3 separate regions of the Homo sapiens genome follow, and regions 2 and 3 are each linked to region 1. Evidence: promoter capture Hi-C in 16 types of primary human blood cells and fetal thymus (Javierre and others, 2016). All regions are on one chromosome and are shown on one strand. Each heading gives the region's core, a stretch centred on a gene start or on the middle of the fragment in contact. The rest is flanking DNA. Distances are from core to core; before and after follow the strand shown. Region 1 holds the start of ACSL3-AS1 (ACSL3 antisense RNA 1). Region 2 overlaps FARSB (phenylalanyl-tRNA synthetase subunit beta). Region 3 overlaps FARSB (phenylalanyl-tRNA synthetase subunit beta).

Evidence for each region. The method cuts DNA at HindIII sites, captures the fragments that hold promoters and counts their contacts. A CHiCAGO score of 5 or more calls a contact.
Region 2: a contact is called between a fragment that was not itself captured here and the fragment with the promoter of ACSL3-AS1 in region 1, in 1 of 17 cell types (total B cells). The highest score is 6.1, in total B cells.
Region 3: a fragment that was not itself captured here is called in contact with the fragment with the promoter of ACSL3-AS1 in region 1 in 1 of 17 cell types (fetal thymus); the score reaches 5.2 in fetal thymus.

What each region holds. Positions count from the first base shown.
Region 1 is chr2:222,917,703-222,922,363 of GRCh38, reverse strand. ACSL3-AS1 (ACSL3 antisense RNA 1) reads left to right here and starts at 2,763. Exons shown (of 3, transcript XR_923949.3): 1 at 2,763-2,825; 2 at 3,005-3,134; 3 at 4,575-4,661. It overlaps ACSL3 (acyl-CoA synthetase long chain family member 3), which reads right to left. Exons shown (of 17, transcript NM_004457.5): 6 at 4,209-4,318; 7 at 3,162-3,300; 8 at 934-1,084. The HindIII fragment of the contact is 9,982 bases long and covers 1-4,661 here.
Region 2 is chr2:222,598,061-222,602,721 of GRCh38, reverse strand. FARSB (phenylalanyl-tRNA synthetase subunit beta) reads left to right here. Exons shown (of 17, transcript NM_005687.5): 16 at 2,639-2,794. Among named protein-coding and RNA genes, the nearest start is that of FARSB, 56 kb to the left of the region's middle. The HindIII fragment of the contact is 427 bases long and covers 1,902-2,328 here.
Region 3 is chr2:222,614,613-222,619,273 of GRCh38, reverse strand. All of the region lies in intron 14 of FARSB (phenylalanyl-tRNA synthetase subunit beta), which reads left to right. Among named protein-coding and RNA genes, the nearest start is that of FARSB, 39 kb to the left of the region's middle. The HindIII fragment of the contact is 1,357 bases long and covers 1,861-3,217 here.

The DNA.
Region 1 (4,661 bases), core at 1,514-4,013:
TAATACAGGGTTCTTTTGAAGAACAGAAGAAATCATCCAAGGAGGAAATGGTCTTTACATCTAGTGGGTTGCCAACCAGAAGAGTTAAAGTAGAATCCACAACTATCTGCCAGAAATTTTACAGATAAGACTCTTGTTGTGGGAATTGGATTACATAATAAATTAGATCTTAATATACAGAAAATGTGTAAGTATTTGTATATACTTCAAGAGCTGCCCCCATAACCAAAATATAGAAGGTAACTGAGGCAAACCTGTAAGAAAATTGTTGCACTTAATTTTTTCTGAAATGTATGCATACGTAAGAGACATTCCTCCATCCCCAAGTTCAGTACCATAGCAATTACGTGAGTGTGTGTGTGCGTGTATGTTTGTAATTTCTGTGCATAAAAGCATCAAAAATATCCAACCACTGTACCCTATCGGTCATCAGAATACCAATTGCATCTCTGGCAATGTTTCCTTGACAGTCCCTCAAACTTCCATCTGGTTTCCTCCATCAGTCTCTTCCCCACTCCACTCTACCTTCCACTGCTACCACTGGAGTTTGTATTAACAAGAAAAATCAGAGACCAAATACTGAAGCTCAACAAATACTTAGTGGATAAATTAAGTTACCTGTTCACCTGAATTGTATTTAGATATAAAAAAAACTACAGCAGCAAATACAAGCTGATTAAAACAAAGGATTTACAACTATACAAATTTAAGTTCTGTACTTTTTAAAATATATCTATATGATATATTTTCAACCTCACAACTATAACTATTTTGCCATTAATTTTAATGTCCTTTTTTATTTTTTAAGGAAATGCCTACTACAAACAGACTCTGAGGGACTAATTTAGCCATATATTAATAAAATGACACAAATGCTAACATTATAACAGACATAAATACTTAACTACTCAATGTTACTTTACTATGACATACCCTAGTTCTGGAATCCTTTCTGCCATCCCAGTTATACCAGCAATAATGTTACTATGTGAGATCATGACTCCCTTTGGAAGTCCTGTGGATCCACTTGTGTACATGATTACTGCAATATCTGAGGGCAATGGTTTGCTATGAGGTTGGTTTTCTGCATTGAAGAGAAAAAACACACACATACACTTTCATGAGATTCAGCTGTATCAACAATTTCTTTTCATTATCATCAAATAAATAACTCAATCAAATTGAGTTAATTTAACTCAATTCAACAAATATTAGTTATACTGAGATCAACAAAACAGATCAAGTCCCTGCACGTATGGGAGATATATTCTATTGAGATATACAAACAGATTAACCTATGAAGAAAACTGAAGCAAGACAAGGTGAGAAGATGACAATAGATGCTATTTGGATGGAAAAGCCTGGAGACCGTCTCTGTAGAGTTTCGTTTAGCAAAGGCCTGAATAAAGTGAGGAAGGGAGCCATGGAAACCCTGGAACTGGGAGAAGAGTGTTCTAATTAGAAGGAAATAAGCAAATGCAAAGACCCAAAGGTAGGAATGTGCTCAGCATATCTAAAGACCAGCAAGGAGTGTGGCTGGAACAGAGTGAGCAAGAGGAAGAGTGGCAAGAAACAATAGTCAAGTGGCTATCAGGGACCACACATAGGACCTCAAAGGCCACGGGAAGAACTCTGGATTACGTTCTGGATGTAAAGCAATGTTGTTTTGAACAGGAGTATGTTATTATCTGTGAAAAAAAAGATCACTTTGGCTGCTGTGTGGCTAACTAACTTTACAAGGGGAAAAAAGGTATCAGGGAGACAAGATTATCCCAGTAATTCAACTAAGAAATAAAGGTAGCTTTGGACTAGAGTATCTAGGTGTTTGCTAAAAACTATTCACTGCTTCAGAATGGTGACTAACTTGGTTACACTCAGAGTCCTGCATTAAAACACGATGTGAACCATTTGAAATCAGAAGAGTACCAGCCTAAGGACAACAGCTGAGAAGCTATAGAGGTGGCACAGCAGAAGAACAAAGAGAAATAGGTCATGGTTGGCATTGCTGATATGTCTGAACCACTCCCAGAACTACTCTACATGTGAACTTCTAAATGAGTGTGAAAAAATTATTTAAATGTACTCCCAATAGAATACCCTTCCTCTCCTGTCAGTCAAGATACATTTCTTAAATAATGTTTACACTTGGAAGTCTTTACTTCCAAATCAGCCCTTCACTCCTTCAATGCACAGCACCCTTCTCCAACACCACCACTTCTTGGAAATTACAATCCTTGTGTCATCTGACCTCTGCATGCAGCCCCTGATCCTGCTGATGACTCACCAAGATCTCCTTTCCCTTGGCTTCCAGGAACCACATACTACTAGATATTTTCTTCTTTCCTCTCTGACTAGTCCTTAGTAGCCTCTGAAGCCACCATTCCCTGTTGGTGACCTCACCCCCTACTCCCACAGCTATAATTAAAACCTAACTGCTTCTAGCTTCCAAATCTCTAAGTCCAAACATAACTCGAGTACTAGACTTTTACACACCACTGTCCACAATATATCTGCATCTAAATATCCCACTACCACTCAAATTCCAGGTGCCTAAAATTTGAGTTGAGTGAATGCTTACATCTAATTACTAGGTTTCCAACTACAGAGGAAATGCAGTCCCAGCATCCCAGCAGCTTTTGCAGTATCTCTAAACACTAGTACACTAGCTAACATTTTCTGACGCTTTTTTGAGAATAGGAACTTGTAGAGTCACCATGCCTAGGTGTGCTAGTTGGAGGGTAAGGTTTTCACCTCAGGAAAGGGAAGAACTGGAACAGGGAGTAAAAGGAGGCCTCCAGGTTTAGCCACTCTGTTAACACTTACAGGTAATTCACATAGGACAAGATAAATGTCATTATTTATAAACTAACTTTAAACCACCCAAAACTATCACCATAAAAAAGAAATGAAAACTGAATGTAAAATATTTTAAATTTCAAATAAATACTACCTTTAAAACATTAATAATTAATGTTTATATTTTTCCTTAAAACTTTCTTTAAAGACAAGATGAAAGTATACCTAGAGGGACCTGTTTTCCTAACTGATGTTAGAAAACTGATGTGTCATTTGAGCTAACCTCAGAATCAAAACTTTGGCATAATTCTGGAGAATGTGGTCACCAGAAAGCACAGGTAAGGAATTAGAAAAGTGTAACATACCCATGCTGGCCTTGGCTCCCAGGGCCTCCACTGCAGCCATGGTATGCACAATGATGCCCTTGGGGAACTCGGACCAGGTCGGTGGCTTTCCATCAACAGTGATGATGTGCCGCAGGCGTGGGACCAAAGAAACTATATCCTAGAAATACACCAACATTCATCACGTTCATTATTTTTCAAGCAGCTTAGCGAATAAGAATACTAGTTTACCATATTCGGTGAATCATTAAGTAATTTCTTGCCTCAAAAAAGAAAGAAGAAAGGGTACACTGGCATAATATCACTTTTTACAGATGATTAAGTATTGGTCTGAATTTAAATTATTATTTTATAGCATTAGATTCACTGTGTGTACCCTTGGCCTTTGGTAAAACCCTGATCAAGAAGGGTACTGCCTTATAAAACGGGCATGTAAACACAGGTTGCCTAAACTGTAGAGAAACCAGAAGCCCCTCATATTTTCAAGAGACTACATAAAAATATATGGGGGAAGGAGGAGAAAATTCACATGCAAACTTGTTCAAAATTTTCTTTTTGAACAAGTTTACATGTGAATTTTCTCCTCCTTCCCCCATATAGAATAGCCCAGATATTTCTGGGAGTTGTCTAGAGACCAAAGAAACTCTTTTTACTGTAATATAATTAAAAGTCTCCCTTTTTAACTTCCAAACAATTCTGAAAACTTGTAATTACTTAATGCTTCAGAAGTAAAATAAAAATTACTAGTTTAAAATATAACCCTTCAAAATTACAAATTTACTAAAAGTAAACTAGAAAATAGATGAGCACAATAAGAGAAAAAGTAGTCGTAATTTCTTCAATTTAAACATAGGCATCTTAACAATTTATAACTCTGGATTACTTATACATGAATATATACAAAATCTACTTTTTATTTTCTAAAGGAAAAAATAAAGTATGATATTCATAAAAGTCCACAAAGATTAAGGACTTAAAAGTCATAAAAGAACTAAGTATCAATAATAGGGCTCATGACACTGAAAATTCTAAAGTATCAGACAGTTAGAAAGTAACTAGAGTCCTCACCTTCAACTTTGTTTGTAAGAGTTCTTTACTAGTAATGATGTTGGTCACCTCTGTTTCATTTAATGCATGAACAATGGCTGGACCTCCTAGAGTGGCATATAATGTAACAACTAAAAGGAAAAGCAGCAGCCAGTCAAATATTCAAACATTTAACTACAAATGTAAAGTCTCTGAATGTGGAGATGAATCATAATAACGCATTAGGAGCCCTAAACTGTTAAATCCACAGTCTATAAGTGTTATGTTTTTTAAAGTTATCTTATCATACTAATCAACATTACACCTACTCATCCTCCCCTAAATGCCCCAAGATTTCCAATTTTTAAAGATGAAGATATTTAAATTTTTATTTTGTTTCACTTACAGATGTTACTCTGGGACTACCACATTGTGAAGGAATTATAACTGATTTCTAAGACTTCAAATTCTTAATTGTTGGCCACTTGGCTTTAC
Region 2 (4,661 bases), core at 866-3,365, 320 kb after region 1:
GGGTGCAGCACACCAACATGGCACACGTATACATATGTAACAAACCTGCACGTTGTGCACATGTACCCTAAAACTTAAAGTATAATAATAATAAAATTAAAAAAAAAAGAAGTAGAATTACTGGATAATATGGTATAAAAAAAAAAAGAAAAGCCACCTTTATCATATTCTCAATTCTTGTAAGTATTTAGATCTGTTTCTGAACTGTTCTGTTCCACTCATCTGTATGACTACTCACAAATTATTGCCACTCTGTTTTAATTGCTGTAGATGTATAAATTTTAATATCTAGTAGTCTCCCTCTATCACTATTGTTTTTTTATATGAACTTTAGAATCCATTTATGTAATTTTTTTCAATTCTATTGGTATTTTTTTTAAGATCACATTAGATTTGTAAATTGAGAGAGGTTTAGATGATTATAATTATCACTACAAGATCAAAAAGTTCCATCACCCTAAAAACGCCTTATTTTAGTTGCATTTTTTTCCCATACCTAATCCCAGACAACTACTATCTGTTCTCTGTTCCCATAAGTTTGGCCTTTTCCAGAATGTCATATAAATGGACTCATACTGTCTGTAGCCTTTTGAGAGCCTTCTTTCTTTCAGCGTAATGCCTTTGAGAGTCATCCAGGTTGTCAAGTCTATCTACAGTTTGTTCCTTTTTGTTGCTGAGTGGTATCCTACTGTATGGATGTACCAGTTTGTTATCAGTGTTCATTTGGACTGTTGGAATTCTTTTTTAAAATATTGCCTTTAGCTGGGCACAGTGGCTCACACCTTAATTCCAGCACTTTGGGAGGCTGAGGCAGGAGGATCACTTGAGCCCAGAGTTTGAGACCAGCCTGGGCAACAGAGTGAGACTTTGTCTCTGCAAAAAATTAAAAAATTAGCTGAGTGTGGTGGCGTGTGCCTATGGTCCCAGCTACCCTGGAGGCTAAGGTGGGAGGATTGCTTGAGCCCAGGAAGTTGAGGCTGCAGTGCACTTTTATATTATTTGTGGTTGCGCCAGGGTGGGCAACAGAGCGAGACCCTATCTCAAAAAATAAAGTGAAATAAAATGAAATATTGAGTTTGTAAGTTTGTTTTAGTTTTCAAAGTAGAATAATATATACTAATCATGGAAAAACTGGGAAGTAAATAAAAGTTGGAAAAAATTATCCTTGCCCAAACATAACCTCTGTTAACATTTAGGTATATTTCTTTTCAGTCTTTTTCTCTGTTCATGGGGTTTTTTGGCTTATGGCTATATTTATGTAGTTGTGATTCTGTTTTTCATCTTTTTATTATTATTATTATTATTATTGTAGAGATGGGGTATTGCTATGTTGCCCAGGTTGGTCTCAAACTCTTGCCTTGGCCTTCCAAAGCGCTGGGATTACAGGCATGAGCTGTTTTGCCTGGCCCTATTCTTCATATACTTTAAAAAATTATTATTATTGTGGTAAAAAACATATGAGAGCTACCCTTTTAGTAAACTTTTAGAGGTGCACAGTTACAGTAGTGTTAACTATGTGCACGTTGTTGTGGGTCTCTAGAACTTTTCATCTTGCATGGCTAAACTTTTATACTCATTCAATATCAATTCCCCATTCCCTTTCCCTCCAACCCCTGGCAGCTACCTTTCTACTTTCTGTTTCTCCGAGTTTCATGACTTAGATACTTCATATAAATGGAATCATGCAGTATTTGTCTTACTGTGAGTGGCTTATTTAATTTAGCATAATGTCCTCAAGATTCACCCATGTGGTAGCATAGCTTCATAAACTTTAGTATTCTGCTTTTTTTATGCTTTGTGAAGAATGTATTCAACATAGGTAGTTTTTAAAATATTACAAAGTACACACTAGTGTAACCATCAGCCACATTAAGAATGGAACATTGCCAGTATCCTAAGCTTCTTATATGACCCCTCCCCATCACAGATTCTTCATTTTAACCTAGGGTAATTGTTAGCCTAACTTTGGTCATAGTCATTACCTTACTTGCTTCATAGTTTTCCAATCTATGTTTGTTCTTTAAACAATGTAATTTAGTTTTGCCTCTTTTTGAACCTTGTGGTCTCTTTTTAATTTTCATTTACTATGATAAGTATTTGCTGTTGCTGTGTTATGATAAACCATCATAAAGATGCTTTCTAATAGCCGCTTAGTATCCTGATGAGTGATTGCACTGTACTTTATGTAGCCATCCCTAATATAGGTTGTTTATAATTTTACTATTGGAAATAATGTTGTAGTAAATGTCTTTCTACATAAAGCCTTTTTGAATTTAGGATTATTTCCTTTGGGTAGTATTAATATTATGAATAAGAGAGTATGAAGCTTTAAGGCTCTGATATATTGGTAAATTGTTTACAAAGAATTTTACCAACTTATACCTCAGTGAAGCCTTATTTTCCCTGGTCAGCATTGAGGGTTTTTCACTCTTTCCCCCAAATAAAACACCTTAGGGAATTTGATGAGCTGAAAAAAGACTATTTTATCTTATTTTGCATTTGTGAGGTTGAATCCTTCTCTGAATGTTTAATATTTGGTTTTCTTTTTTGTTGACTTTTTCTAAGTTTGTACTGGGGTAAATCAGTTTCTTAAGCAATGGTTAATACAGCGTTGTGACCAGTTCCTTTATTTTTCTAGATGTAGGTGCAAAAAACTACAGACATCTCTGTGCTGTTTATTACAACAAGAATCCTGGGTTTGAGATCATTCATGGGCTGCTGGACAGAATTATGCAGTTGCTCGATGTGCCTCCTGGTGAAGACAAGGGGGGATATGTGATCAAAGCATCAGAAGGTAAGACAGATGAGCCGAATCCAGAGTTAGTGACAGTGTCAGGAAGAGGCTACACCTTGTTTTTGATGAAGTTGGTAGTTTTGATTTGGGATTTTAGAAAGAAAGGGAGAGTTTTATTTCAATTAATTGTCAATATTATCCAGAAAATATCCCCTTTCCCTCCAGCATTTTAAGAAAACACTTTTCAGAACTCTCGTAAGTGCTGCACAGTATACTTTCGTTCCAACTGAGCTGTAACCCCTAGTTACTGGCACCTTTAAGCCATCAAAATGGCTAAATCACTGGCACCTTTAAGCCATCAGCACATGGTGAACCCAGAAGTTTTAACTGGAAGCTGGTAAGACCTAAAGTGATGGTTTGCACTCAAAAGCTGCCTGTCTGATGGCTTTAAGACAAAAGAAAAAAGAAAACAAAAACAAAAACCTCAGAAGTTATTCTGAAAGATTTCACACATGTTAATCAAGTCATAAAGTTTGCAGAGCAAGGGTGGGAATCCTCGTGTATAAAATCCCAAGTACAGTAAAATCTTTGTTGGAGAGTTTAAGCTAGGCTAACTAAATGGTATATATGTGCTCCTAATATTCTATTAATAGTTTCTCATTATCCAAGGAACTCTGAAATTTTTGCTTTTCATATTTCTGCAGCTTCAATCTAAATTTATTTTGTTAGATGAAAGGTCCAGAAACAACTTGAGAGAAATATTTCACCACTTATTCCTACCGTTTACCTCACTGTGCTTTATAACTCTATTTGGCATCTTAAATTTCTAACAGAACATTTACTTTTAAAGTGTTATTTAACAGTTAGTAATGAGATTTGGTGGGGTAATATGTTTTTTTCTTTTATTTATTAGTCCTCAGGGATTGTTTTTGTTGGTGGTTGTTTAATTTTTGTTTTTGTTTTCATTTTGAGACTCCTTTGAAAATAACCCTGAAATCTATGGGTTTTTTTAGATTGAAGATGTGTGTGGTTCTTTTTTTTTTTTTAAATAAATGAGAGATTAAATAAGCAGGAAGTTGTTTCTTACCCACTTTCCATGAGAAATAATAAAATGCAGACATTGTTATGCTTGTGGAGTTCTAGATGTTAGAACTGGATTTTGGAGTTCATCCAGCCCACGAGCCCGGTTTTATGAGTGAGGGAACTGGGGTTAGGCAAGTTAAAGAAGCCGGAGCCGGGTCATGCATGTTGACCCCACAGCTTCTGCCTCCCAGTATCCTTGCCAGTGTTGTCTGCCTTTTTAGTGCCTGTATATACTCATTCACCAGTTTACCATCCTAGAATTTTGCTTTAAGACCAGGTCATCCAGGCTTATGGCAACCTGTAAGCTGATGTGAAGCATTTCTTTTCCTTCCATGCACAATCTTCTCAGAAATCTTATTTCTTAAACAGTTTAGCTAGATAAAAATTTGATGCAGATTGCGTCCTGAACGTGAGGTCCAATTTCTTTCATACTTGAAAGGTTGCAAAGAGCTGAAATGGTAAATGAGAGCATAGCTTGTGGTGGATGTGATGCTTTGTGTAACCTTTAGATGGATAATATTTCTGTAAACTGGTATCTTAATATTGTGACTTCTCCTGCTTCAATCAGTTCCTTAGATATTTATTTATCAGAAGAGTGTGAGTTCCTAGTTATAAGGCAGACTTCAGAAAAGACAATGATAAGTAGGACACAGGTGCTGCTGTCAAGCAACCAGCCAGGGAAAAGACCACCACATACCGACCCTCAAACCAAGATGTTAAAATGATTGTCTTGATGTTTCCGAAGAGGAAGAAAGTGCAACTTCTTCAGGGCATCCAGAAAAACAATAGGGAGTTTCTGCAAAGTGAGATGGGCCTTTGGAAGAATAGGTGGAGACAGGGGAAG
Region 3 (4,661 bases), core at 1,290-3,789, 300 kb after region 1:
AGTGCAGTGGCACGATCTCGGCTCACTGCAACCTCTGCCTCCTGGGTTCAAGCGATTCTGCTGCCTCAGCCTCCCAAGTAGTTGGGATTACAGGTGCATGCCACGATGCTTGGCTAAATTTTTTTTTTTTTTGAGACAGAGTCTCGCTCTGTCGCCCAGGCTGGAGTGCAGTGGCGGGATCTCGGCTCACTGCAAGCTCCGCCTCCCGGGTTCACGCCATTCTCCTGCCTCAGCCTCCCAAGTAGCTGGGACTACAGGCGCCCGCCACTACGCCCGGCTAATTTTTTGTATTTTTAGTAGAGACGGGGTTTCACCATGTTGGCGAGGCTGGTTCTGAACTCCTGATCTCAAGTGATCCGCAAAGTGACCTCAGCCTCCCAAAGTGCTGGGATTACAGGCATGAGCACCTAGCCAGGTTTCATCTCTTTTCCATTCATTTGTAATAAATGAATCAAAACCTGTTCCCAGTTCCTTCGTAAGTCATTCACTTTGAAATTGCCCATTATATCAGTTCTTGACTGTGCTGCTTATGTCTTTTATTGTAATTGTCTAAGTTTATTGGCAGTTTCATTTAGAGGTTAGGAATATTTAAATGAGAATGATACTGCTTTAATATTGAGTATTAAGTGATTTGTGTTATAGACTAGGATATTAACTATAAAGGGAGGGCATTTTAAGATTATAACATCTTTGCTTATTAATAACTTTAAATAGTTCTCTTTTATACTGATAAGCTCTTGTGCTGTTTCTCTTGCATATGCAAGTCTGTATGTTTTTTAACCTAGATTTTAGAGAAAATCATGTCTTCTTCTAGAATCAAGGGGAATCTTAGAACTGGAAGGTTATATTTTAAAGAAGGTTAATGCTATTATAAATAATATCTGAATTCTGATTTGAAATAGTTTCTTTGGATTTTGGTTTTTACTTCTACAAAAATAAGGGACTGGGTTAGTTCTAAAAAGAATTCTAAAAGTTCTAAAAGTGTTTAAAACTAAATTTAAAAATTCTAAAGTTTATCTATAGAACCACCTGCTAATGTTGTAGATTAGAGCTAGACTAATTAAAGAACTAATTGGTAATATATATCAAGTATATGAATTCTTTATCTATACTTAGGGTCAGAACTTTGAAGAATCCTTATACTAATTTTGGAAGGATTGTAGTAATGAGTTGTTATATTTTATTTTCTGAGGTCTAGTTTCCTATTGCTTTTAAAGTTTGCCCATGGTGTTCCTTTTAATAAGAGGTATTCAAATTCATTTGCATAGAATGATTTTTCAGTAAATCTTAATGGATTTTTGCTTATTCGAAATGTACCTTTTTCTCCCAGTTTTACTTATCTAGCTTGATTACTTTTTTAAAAAACTTTATTTTATTTTTATTTATTTTTTGAGACAGAGCTTCGCTCTCTTGCCCAGGCTGAAGTGCAGTGTCCTGATCTTGGCTCACTGCAACCTCCGCCTCTTGGGTTCAAGCGATTCTTGTGCCCCAGCCTCCCGAGTAGCTGGGATTACAGGTGTGTGCTACCATACCTTGCTAATTTTTGTACTTTAATAGAGATGGGGTTTTACCATGTTGGACAGGCTGGTCTCGAACTCCCGGCCTCAAGTGATCCACCCACCATGGCCTCCCAGAGTGCTGGGATGACAAGTGTGAGCCACCTCGCTTGGCCTTTTGTCAACTTTTATTTTAGATTCAGTTAGTACATGCGTGGGTCTAATTACAAAGGTATATTGCATGATGTTGAGGTTTGGAGTGTGACTGAACCCGTCACCCAGTAGTGAGCATAGTACCCAATAGGTAGTTTTTCAGCTCTTGCTCCCCACCTCTCTCTTCGCCTTGTATTCCCCTAGTGAAGCTTGATAGATTTCTTAAGATGTGGTAACTGTTATGTTCTTCAGGATTTACATCCTGTCTTTTCTATTTTATATAAGTGGAAGGAAAATAATCAGAAATGCATTAAATGTCACTATAAATAGCTGTGGCTTAGCACACTTAAGAATCAATCTTTCTTGGGAGGCCGAGGCGGGTGGATCATGAGGTCAGGAGATCGAGACCATCCTGGCTAACAAGGTGAAACCCCGTCTCTACTAAAAATACAAAAAATTAGCCGGGCGCGGTGGCGGGCGCCTGTAGTCCCAGCTACTCGGGAGGCTGAGGCAGGAGAATGGCGTGAACCCGGGAAGCGGAGCTTGCAGTGAGCCGAGATTGCGCCACTGCAGTCCGCAGTCCGACCTGGGCGACAGAGCGAGACTCCGTCTCAAAAAAAAAAAAAAAAAAAAAAAAAAGAATCAATCTTTCTGCATAAAGTACCTTAAAGATCAAAGAGAGTGCCTGTCTTTTGACCTAACAGATTCTATATTTTACCTTGCTTTACCAACAGGTGAGTCCTACCATCATTAATTTGGCTAAGAGGTTTATATTTATGGTTAAGTTAAATGTAAAGTTCTTCATGGGCCTATAACTCAGTTTCTTGTCTAAATCCTTTCCTTCTCCTGCATAATTCTTAACTTTGGGCTCTTTTTTGATAGTAAATATGTTGGAGAATGGGCAAGATAAAAATGTAACTTGGCTAAAATATGTAAAATTTTATTATAGTGACAATAAACAAACTTACAGAATATTACCACACCCCTTCCAAATTAACAATAATATTCCTTAATCACCTCACATATCCAGTCATTGTTTTAGTTTTCCCAATTGTCATTTTTTTTTTTTTTTTTTTTTTGAGATGGAGTCTCACTCTGTTGCCAGGCTGGAGTGCAGTGGTGCAATCTTGGCTCACTGCAACTTCCGCCTTCTGGGTTCAAGCAATTCTCCTGCCTCAGCCTCCCGAGTAGCTGGGACTACAGGCACGCGCTGCCGCGCCCAGCTAATTTTTGTATTTTTAGTAGAGACGGGGTTTCACCGTGTTGGCCAGGATGGTCTCAATCTCCTGACCTCGTGATCCGCCCATCTTGGCCTCCCATCAATTTTTTTTTTTAACAGTTTGAGTTCGGATTCAAATGTGGTTCATACATTGACATTGATTTATATGCTTTTCATGTCTCTGTTAATCTACAACTTGCACCTCTCATCCTTCCGTCTTTCTTTTCCTTTCAGTTTGTTGAAGAAACTGAGTCATTTGTCCTATAGAATTCTTACATTTAGGATTTTGCTGAATATGTTCCAATGGCCCCCTAAATTTCCAGTAAATTGGTAGTTGGATATAGAAGCTTGATCAGATTCAGGTTTAATTTTTTGTATTTCTGTAGGTTTTTAAATATGCAAATAAGGCATATCTATAAAATACACTGATAAAATTAAGAAAAGTTTTCTATAACAGTAGTTTGTTTATTATATTTCAATAAGTTAAATTTCCTTTTAACTTTTAACATTGTAGTTTTGTTTTTGTGAATGGTTTGGGCACTTGCCCTCCAATGGGGAAAATGAATAATATTTAAGAAGCACCAAGTTGAAGGCGAGTAGCAGCTTGTTGGTATAGTGAGTGTGATGGGAAAGACGTTCTCTTTTTCATTCAAAACACAATCTAACAATTCCATTTAGGGTCTTATGGTTACTTGTGCAGGATCTAAGAGTGTCTGTGTTTTAGCTTGGGTGTTCAGGGCAAACCTCTGTAGGAGAGAACATTTGAGCAGACACTTGAAGGAAGGAAGGAAGCCACATGTGAACCTAGAGGAAGAATGTAGGAGCAGAGTAAGCATGGAGGCCCCAGGATGGAAATCTTGCTGACCAGTGTGGCCTCCAGTGTGGCTGGAGTGCAGTAAGCCTGCGGAAGCAGCAGGGGTTGAGGGTAGAGAGGGAGTCAGGGCACATCACATAGGGCCCCAGGTAGGCCATGGATTTTATTCAAAATTTAATGGAAACCTCTTGCAGATTTTTGACCAGGGGAGTTGCATGGTCTGATTTCCATCTTAAAGGACCACTCCGTATGGAGAATAGGCCACAGGTTGGCAGGAATGGAAGCACAGAAGCCAGCTTAAGAATGTTATGCAGTAGTCTGGGGAAAAGATAATAGTGCTTGTGGTCTGAATGCAGAGCCCAGACTCTCACAATAATGTTACACCACTGCTTATAAAACTCTTCTGGTAACATGTGTTGGAAGCTAATATATTCCGTATAGCTTACAGGGAGAAATATGTTTTACAGACAAAGCAGGAAATTTTTGCTTTTTTTTAATGTACCAGGGTATGCATTTCTTAGGAATAGGAAGAATGAAATGACTGTACATGCTTTCTTTCACATTTGCTTTAGTTAATAAAAAGTTTAGAACTGTAGTTACAGCCTACCCATAGCAGCTGTATATATTTTTTAGCACCTACATATTTGTATTCTGTTTTCCTCATTGTGATATTTTAATTGCATTTACATTTTTCCTGGTCCTAATTCTGATTAATTCATATTTAATTTATTTATGGTTTTATTTATTTATTTGTTTAGAGACAGGTTCTCTGTTGCCTAGGCTGGAGAGCAGTGGTATGATTATAGCTTATTGTAACCTTGAACTCCTGGGCTCAGGCAATTCTCCACCTCAGCCTCCCGAGTAGCTGAAACTAAAGGCATGTATCCATACCTAGCTAATTTTTAAATCTGTGGAGGTGGTGTTTTGCTATGTTGCCCGTGCTGGTCTTGAACTACTAGCCTCAAGTGTTCCTCCTACC